Regions from separate parts of the Homo sapiens genome. Here regions 1 and 3 are each linked to region 2. The links are contacts of gene promoters, found by promoter capture Hi-C in human tissues and cell types (Jung and others, 2019). All regions are on one chromosome and are shown on one strand. The core of a region is centred on a gene start or on the middle of the fragment in contact, and the rest is flanking DNA. Distances in the headings are between cores, read along the strand shown. Region 1 overlaps UPP1 (uridine phosphorylase 1). Region 2 holds the start of VWC2 (von Willebrand factor C domain containing 2). Region 3 overlaps ABCA13 (ATP binding cassette subfamily A member 13).

Evidence for each region. Contacts are between HindIII fragments. The study calls those that stand out against the background at their distance.
Region 1: a fragment that was not itself captured here is called in contact with the fragment with the promoter of VWC2 in region 2 in 1 of the 25 tissues and cell types used here (stomach).
Region 3: a contact is called between a fragment that was not itself captured here and the fragment with the promoter of VWC2 in region 2, in 1 of the 25 tissues and cell types used here (dorsolateral prefrontal cortex).

Annotation. Positions count from the first base shown.
Region 1 is chr7:48,093,408-48,096,146 of GRCh38, reverse strand. It overlaps UPP1 (uridine phosphorylase 1), which reads right to left. Exons shown (of 9, transcript NM_003364.4): 3 at 1,320-1,384. The coding sequence starts at 1,363. Among named protein-coding and RNA genes, the nearest start is that of UPP1, 5.5 kb to the right of the region's middle. The HindIII fragment of the contact is 6,395 bases long and covers 1-2,739 here.
Region 2 is chr7:49,772,169-49,774,997 of GRCh38, reverse strand. VWC2 (von Willebrand factor C domain containing 2) reads right to left here and starts at 1,360. Exons shown (of 4, transcript NM_198570.5): 1 at 885-1,360. The HindIII fragment of the contact is 7,488 bases long and covers 1-2,829 here.
Region 3 is chr7:48,255,279-48,258,031 of GRCh38, reverse strand. The region is part of intron 15 of ABCA13 (ATP binding cassette subfamily A member 13); the gene reads right to left. Among named protein-coding and RNA genes, the nearest start is that of ABCA13, 85 kb to the right of the region's middle. The HindIII fragment of the contact is 3,964 bases long and covers 1-2,753 here.

The DNA of each region.
Region 1 (2,739 bases), core at 92-2,591, 1.7 Mb after region 2:
GGTGTGCCGGCCCTGTTTTCTCCAGCCTTCATTTCTACCACTCCCCTCCACCCCCACCAGCCTCCTACTAGGCCTCAACCTCAAGCCATGGCAGGAGGAGGAAGGAGGGGAGCTCCAGAAACTGGGGACAAGGCATTTTTGGCTGTCAATGACTGAAAATACCAGGAATACTATTAGTTCAATTAAAAAATAATCACTGAGGCAGGCCACAGTGGCTCACGCCCGTAATCCCAGCACTTTGGGAGACTGAGGCGGGTGGATCACTTGAGGTCAGGAGTTTGAGACCAGCCTGGCCAACATGGTGAAACCCCATCTCTACTAAAAATACAAAATTAGCCAAGTGTGCTGGCTTGCACCTGTAATCCCAGCTACCTGGGAGGCCGAGGCACCAGAATTGCTTGAAACTGGGAAGCAGAGGTTGCAGCAAGCTGAGATTGCGCCACTCACTGCACTCCAGCCTGGGCGACAAGAGCAAAACTCCATCTCAAAAAAAAAAAATCACTGCAGGGAATGTCCACAGGCACCAGAAACTCCAAAATGGACACCAGGACTTCTGGGGAATGGAGGAGGAGAAGAGCATTGTCCATATGGAATTATGACCTGGGTATGCAGCTGTCACATGTGAGACTTCAGAGAGGTCTCAGGGAAGTTACAGAGGAACAAAGGACCAGGAGTCCAGAGCAAGGGGGGCCAGAGGTCACCACAACCCTGGGTGGTGCCAAGGTCAGAGGCCACCAAGACTGGGGAGAGGCCATGGCGGCAGGACAGAAGGCCTGCCCAGGTAACCCCAGCAGAGGTGGGAGACAACTGGGGGGGTGAGAAAATAAGAATAATCAGCGGATTAAAGTTCACATAGGAATCAGAATGAAGACAAGAAATTCTTGCTTTTCTAGCAATGCCTAAACACAAGTGGTGTCATGCCAAGCATACCAGAAGTATGACAAACTGCAAAGAAATAAGAAGGCATTTAAAATTCAGAACCAAGGCAGAGCTGAGTGATAAGCAGGGGATTTTGTTTAAGAAATTGGCACATAGAGGAAAAACCTACTAGACAGAGATTTGAGCAGGGACTTGTCTGGTTTTCTGAAACAACATGTCCTAAGAATCAAGAGCTGAGGCCCCAGCACCCGACCCCGGAGGTCTTTAACCATCTAATGTACGAACCTCCTGAGTCATTAATCCCTCCAGGCCTCAGTCTCTTTCACAAGCATCAAATGTGTTAATATATGTCAAGTCCTTAGAAAAATGTGTGGCACAACATATGCTCTATAAACAACCCAACCCCACCCAACCCAACCTGGAATGAAATGGAGCCTTACTTGTGACTTTCAGCTTTCTCTGCATTGGCTCCCGTGGCCGCCATTCCGCCAACTGAGGCAGGACCCTAAGGAAAAAAAATCACAGAATGGAGTGAATCCACTCAGTAGAAACCAAGATCGTGCAGAGCCCCACTAATATGTAGAAAGTCAGTGCAATGAAGTGGAATTCCTTACACACCTGATGTAAGTGTGTGAATTGTGTGAGAAATAGAAACAGAGAGAGAGGAGAGTGTGTATGTGTGTTTATAGCATTGCTAGTTTCAGAGAGGAGGTGCTGAAAATGTGCCAAAAGCCTAAGTGGACAGGCACCTCACACCTCCAGAGAACCTGTCCCCTTTATGCCTGTAAACCCAGCACTTTGGGAGGCCAAGGTGGGTGGAGATCATGAGTTCAAGACAAGCCTGTCCAATACAGTGAAACACCATCTCTACTAAAAATACAAAAATTAGCCAGGTGTGGTGGCAGGCGCCTGTAATCCCAGCTACTCTCAGGAGGCTGAGGGAGGACAATCGCTTGAACCTGGGAGGCAGAGGTTGCAGAGCGACACTCCGTCTCAAAAAACAAAACAAAACAAAACAAAAACCTGTCCCTTATTCCCAATTTCCCAGCTCAGCAAGTCAAGACTCACTGACCCAACACACCACACCTCTCTGCCTCCCTTTTTTTAATAGAGACAGTCTCGCTCTGTCACCCAGGCTGGAGTGCAGTGGTGCCATCTCGGCTCACTGCAACCTCCGCCTCCCAGGTTCAGGCAATTCTTCTGCCTCAGCCTCCCGAGTAGCTGAGACTACAGACACACGCCACCATGTTCAGCTAATTTTTGTATTTTTAGTAGAGACAGGGTTTCACCATGTTGGGCAGGCTGTTCTCGAACTGCTGACCCCAGGTGATCCACCAGCCTCGGCCTCCCAAAGTGCTGGGATTACAGGTGTGAGCCACTGCGCCTGGCCTCTGCCTCACTTTTCTAGAATCTCAGATGCTCTTCTCCCCAGGAAGAATTGGGTCAAAGATGGGTAAAAGTTATCAGCTCCAGGGGGAGCAGCGGGGACAGGGGACCACCATAGGAGGGAGAGGGACTGAGGCTGACCTGAGTCAGCCCACGGCCCCGTCTCCACTGCAAAGTCCCATGAAGGAAAAACGTGGCGTACCTGAAGTTATTCTACTAGGGCTCAGTAGTCAGAAACCCCCAAGACCACTTCTCTGTGTGGAGAAGGGCAGGGTTTTGCCAGAGCTCTTTGAAGGAGGGTGAGACTCACGTTTTGAACTCAGTTAATAAAGAAACAAATCCCCAAATGCCCTGTAATGGCCAGGCCCCCAACTCCCTGGAAAGCCTTGCAGAGTGGGCAGGATTCATGCTGAGAGGAAGAGAGTGAAGCACTGGGTCTACAGGATGATCCAAGGCTCATAAAGACATCAGTAG
Region 2 (2,829 bases), core at 111-2,610:
TTCAGGCACCCAGGGTGTCCCTCCCTAGGTCCTGGCCACATTTCCCGAAGGTTATTAAATGGAGAATTCAGCAGTGGAGTTAGAGACGGACGAATGTACAGGAAGATAAGAGGGAAACTCTTCCTCATTTGCTTTAGGGGGTTGTGCTGGGAAAATGCGGGGAGGTTAAACAAAGCTTCTCCTAGGACTCCACGATTCATTTCTAACAACTTCTTAAAAGACTCCCGTCTCGGGAGCAGACGCCCCCTCCCCGCTCTCTAAGCCCCGCTGCATGAAAGGATGCCCTCGGCCCCTTGCCAGAGGGCCGGGTCGGGGATTCCCGGGGCTTCAGCTCCTCTGCCGGCCCGCCCCTCCGAGCCTTGGGAGCCAGGTCGCCGGCCGCAGCGCTCAGTCTTGTAGTGTCCTGGCTGCGGAGCAGAAGCGCCCGGGCAGCACCAAGGTGTGCAGTGCGGGAGGCTGGGGCCCCAGGGCGCAGAGTGGGCGCGAGACCCTCCTACTCGCTGGATCCCGGCCAGCCTTTCTGGATTCCAAAGTTTCTGCCGCCCAAAGGGGCTGGGAGAGCCCGAGACGCCGCAGGACACCGGCAATCCAGCCTCTCTCCGCCTCACTCCCCGAACGCCCCCACTCTGCGCACTCCGGTGCGTCTGTCCCCTCCCCCTCAGCCCTCCTCCCTGAGGGCTCCGGACGTGCCCGGCCCTGCTGACCCCCTGCCCGGTCCCTGCCGACCTCAACACTGGGCGAAGCGCCCATATTCACAAACTTGGGCGGGGGAGGGGGTTCCTCCGGAGCAGCTGAGCGGCTGAACCCAGCTGGAGCGCGTCCGGCCGCGCGGGGACACCCAGCATGCACCCTCAGCCCTGAAGACCGGCGCCAAACCTACATACATGAGCGCAGGGCGCGGGCCGGACGCCGGGCTCGCAGCGGGCGCAGGGGTAGCAGCGGCGGGCGCGGGCCCGGGTTGCCAGCGCCCATCCTGGGCCGGCCGGCGACCCGCGTGGGGCGGACCACTAACAGCCCAGCCCCACCTGCGCGCTCCGCCTGGCGCGCACACCGGGCTAGGGCGTCTCTGGGGAGTCGCTCATCGCGCTGTCAGCTGCCGGTAGTCGCGGCCCCAACTCGCGTCAGTGCCCGCGTCGCCCTCAGTCGCTCATCCTCCGGCCTCGTCCCCGCTTCTCCGAGACCAAGCGCGCCCCGGGGGCCACCCTGGCGCCGCCTCGCTCCTCTCCGCGGAGGGGTTCGGGGAGCTCTCCAGACCCGGCAGCCGGAATGTCTGGGCAGCCGTGGCGCGTCGGAGGGAAAAGAGAAGCCCGGAGCGCGGCCGGCGCGCGAGTGGCACCGAGGCCAGCATGGGAGCTAGCGCGCCCGCCTCCCGCCTCCCCCTGCCGCAGCCGCCTCCGCCCGGCTCCCGTTCCGCTCCCTCCTCTGCTGCCCCCGCTCTGGAGGCCCCGCCTTGGCCCGCGCTGCCCCGGGGGAGGCCCTCGCGCTGCCCCCGGAGAGGCCCTACCGCCGCACCCGCTCCCTTTGCTGCGCCGGACCAACCTGTCACTCGTCCGCGCGGCCGCGTCCCCACCTCCGCAGCCGGCCGCAGACCCTGCCAGGGCTGCCATTCTCCAGTCGAGTCATTCACTTTGCGCTGGACCTTTCATCTTGGCTTTTCTCTTTTCTTTAATTTCTTCCTTCCTAATTGGCCCCCTCTGGCTTTCCTCTTTGTGGACAGCTTGTTTCAGCTACTGTGTTCAGATTGGGATTCGAAGGCCGTGTTAGTTTAGCAGACTGTTGAGACTTTCTCGTCTTTGCATTCAGAAACCCAGAGAAATAGACGTTTACGAGTAAGAAACGTAAAAATCTCAAGCGCGAACTTTCTGAATCTCTGCCAATCTCTCCCCGCTCCCATCTTCCTCTTTCTGCCTGCTCTCTCTTCTACTACAAATAGAAACCTGTTTCCTAACTTTGCTAGAATCCTCAACTGTTAAGCAGAGGCCCGGTTGTTTTTACTCTTTGATCTTGTGTAAACGAGAAAACGTCAATAGTACCTGTTCAAATTAATCCCCGAAATTGAATTTTCATGGAAATGGCCCATGGCAGTGGTTCCCACTCACGGCATTTTAGAATCCCTGAAAGTGCTCGGACGGTAAACAGATAAGCTTCCCTGCAAGGTCAGGCGCTCTGGCTGGTGGGAACTGGGGAGGCTGGTTTGGGACACAGTTATGTCTATCTTTTAATAGTATAGACAAACAAATCTTAGCTGAGGTGCTAGGGAGCCCTCCTTGAAAGCCTGAGAAGGCTGCCCCTCCACCCCCTCCAACACATACACAACCAACAGGGCTGGATGGAGGATTTCTTTCTCTCTCTCTCTCTCTTTTTTTTTTTTTTCAGACGGAGTCTCGCTCTGTGGCCTAGCCTGGAGCGCAGTGGCGCGATCTCCACTTACTGCAAGCTCGATTCCCGGGTTCATGCCTTTCTGCCGCCTCAGCCTCCTGAGTAGCTGGGACTACAGTCGTCCGCCATCACCCCCAGCTAATTTTGTTTTTGTATTTTTAGTGAGACGGGGTTTCACCATGTTGGACATGATGGTCTCGATCTCCGGACCTCGTGATCCTCCTGCCTCGGTCTCCCAAAATGCTGGTGAGCCACCGCGCCTGGCCTGGATGGAGGATTTCTATGTACAGGATGATTTGAGCCCTTCTGCTGTTTCAGTTCTCACTCTCATTTTTCCTTTTTTTTTTTTTTTTAATGTTTTAGAGACACGATCTCACTTTGTCACCCAGGCTTCAGTGCAGTGGCATGATCACGGCCCACTGCAGCCTCAAACTCCTGCCTCAGACTCCG
Region 3 (2,753 bases), core at 147-2,646, 1.5 Mb after region 2:
GGGTTGCTTGACCCTGGGAGGTCGAGGGTGCAGTGAGCCTCGACTGCATCACTTCACTCCAGCCTGGGCAACAGAGTGAGATCCTGTCTCAAAAAAAATAAATAAATAAGCAACAGGTGAATTCTACCAAATGTATAAAGAAGAACTGATACCATCCCTACTGAAACTAATCCAAAAAATTGCAGAGGAGGGACCCCTCCCTAACTCATTCTATGAGCCTAGCATCATCCTGATACCAAACCCTGGCAGAGACACAAAACAACAACAACAAAAATTTCAGGCCAGTATGCTTGATGAACATAGATGCAAAAATCCTCAACAACATACTATCAAACCAAATCAGCAACACATCAGAAAGCTAATCCACTACAATCAAGTAGGCTTTATCCCAGGGTTGAAAGTTTGGTCCAACATATACAAATCAGTAAATGTGATTTATCACATAAACAGAACTAAAAACAAAAACCACATGATCATCTCAATAGATGCAGAAAAGGCTATTGATAAAATTCAACATCCCTTCATTTTAAAAACCCTTAACAAACTAGGCAATGAAGGAACATACCTCAAAGTAATAACAGCCCATCGATGAAAAACACACAGCCAAAATCATACTAAGTGGGAAAGAGCTAGAAGAATTTCCCTTTAGAACTGTAACAGGACAAGGATGACCACTCTCACCACTCCTATTCACCATAATACTGAAAGTCCTATCCAGAGCAATCAGGCAAGAGAAAGAAATAAAAGGCAGCCAAACAGGAAGAGAGGAAGTCTCCAAACAGGGATAGTTTTATCCTTGTTTGCAAGATGATACAATCCTATACCTAGAAAACCCCATAGTCTGCCCCAGAGCCCCTAGATCTGATAAGCAACTTCAGCAAAGTTTCAGAATAGAAAATCAATGTACAAACCAACAATATCCAAGATGAAAGCCAAATCAAGAACAGAATCACATTCACAATAGCCACAAAAAGAATAAAATACCTAGGAATACAGCTAACCAGGAAGGCGAAAGATCTCCTCAATGAGAATTAAAAAACACTGCTCAAAGAAATCACAGGTGATACAAACAAATGGAAAAACATCCCATGTTCATGGATAAGAAGAATCAATATTATTAAGATTTCCCAAAGCAATTCACAGATTCAATGTTATTCTTAACAAACTACCGATGACATTCTTTACAGAATTTGAAAAAACTATTTTAAAATTCATATGGAATCAAAAAAGTGCCCGAATAGCCAAGGCAATCGTAAGCAAAAGAGCAATGCTGTAGGGATTACATTACCCACCTCCAAACTATACTACATGGCTACAGAAACCAAAACAACATGGTACTGGTAAAATAATAAAAATAAAAAATAAAACACATATACCAACGGAACAGAATAGACAGCCCAGAGCCCAGAAGTAAGGCCACACACCTAAAACCATCGATCTTTGACAAAGTTGACAAAAACTAGCAATAGGGATAGGATTCCTTAATCAATAAAAGGTGCTGGAATAACTGGCTAGCCATGTGCAGAAGATTGAAGCTGGATCCCTTTCTCATCTCATATAAAAAAATCAACTCAAGATGGATTAAAGATTTAAATGTTAAACCTAAAACTATCAATATCCTGGAAGATAACCTAGGCAATATCATTCTGCACATGGGAACAGGAAAAGATTTCAAGATGAAGATATCAGAGTTATTGCAACAACAACAAAAAATCGACAAATAGGACCCAAGTAAACTAAAGAGCTTCTGCACAGCAAAAGAAACTATCAAGAGAGTAAACAGACACCCTACAGAACAGGAGAAAATATTTGCAAACTATGCATCCAACAAAGGTCTAATATCCAGAATCTATAAGGAATTTAAAAAACCAACAAGCAAAAAACAACCCCATTAAAAAGTAGGCAAAAGACATGAACAGACACTTTTTAGAAGAAGACATGCACATGGCCAATAAGTATATGAAAAAATACTCCACTGCATTAGAGAAATACAAATCAAAACCACTGAGATACCATCTCACTGCAGTCAGAATGGCTATCATTAAAAAGTCAAAAAGTAACAGATGCTGGTGAGGTTGTGGAGAAACGGGAACACTTACACACTGTTAGAGGGAAAGTAAATTAGATCAACATCGTGGAAAACAGTGTGGCAATTTCTTAAAGAACTGAAAACAGAATTACCATTTGACCCAGCAGTCCCATTATTGTGTATATACCCAAAGGAATGTATATCATTGTACCATAAAGACACATGCACACATATGTTCATCACAGTACTATTCACAATAGCAAAGTCATGGAATCCAGCTAGATGTCCATCAAGAGTTGATTGGATAAAGAAAAGGTGGTACATATACTCCCATGAAACACTACACAGCCATAAAAAAGAATGAAATCATGTCCTTTGCAGTAACATGGATGTAGCTGGGGGCCAGTATTCTCAGAAAATTAATTCAGGAACAGAAAATCAAATACCACATGTTCCCATTTATAAGTGGGAACTAAATATGGTGTACATATAAATATAAAAGTGGCAACAATAGAAATTGGGAGCTAAAGATTAGGGAAAGAGGGGTGGGCAAGGGTTGAAAAACTAACTATTGGATACTATGTTCACTACCTGGGTGATGGGATCATCACATACTGTCTTAAGTATTAATTCCTTTAATATTATGAAACTTATTTATAGATAAGGAAACTGAAGCAATTTGCCACCAAATCACATGGCTAATCTGTTGCAAAGCCAAGATTAG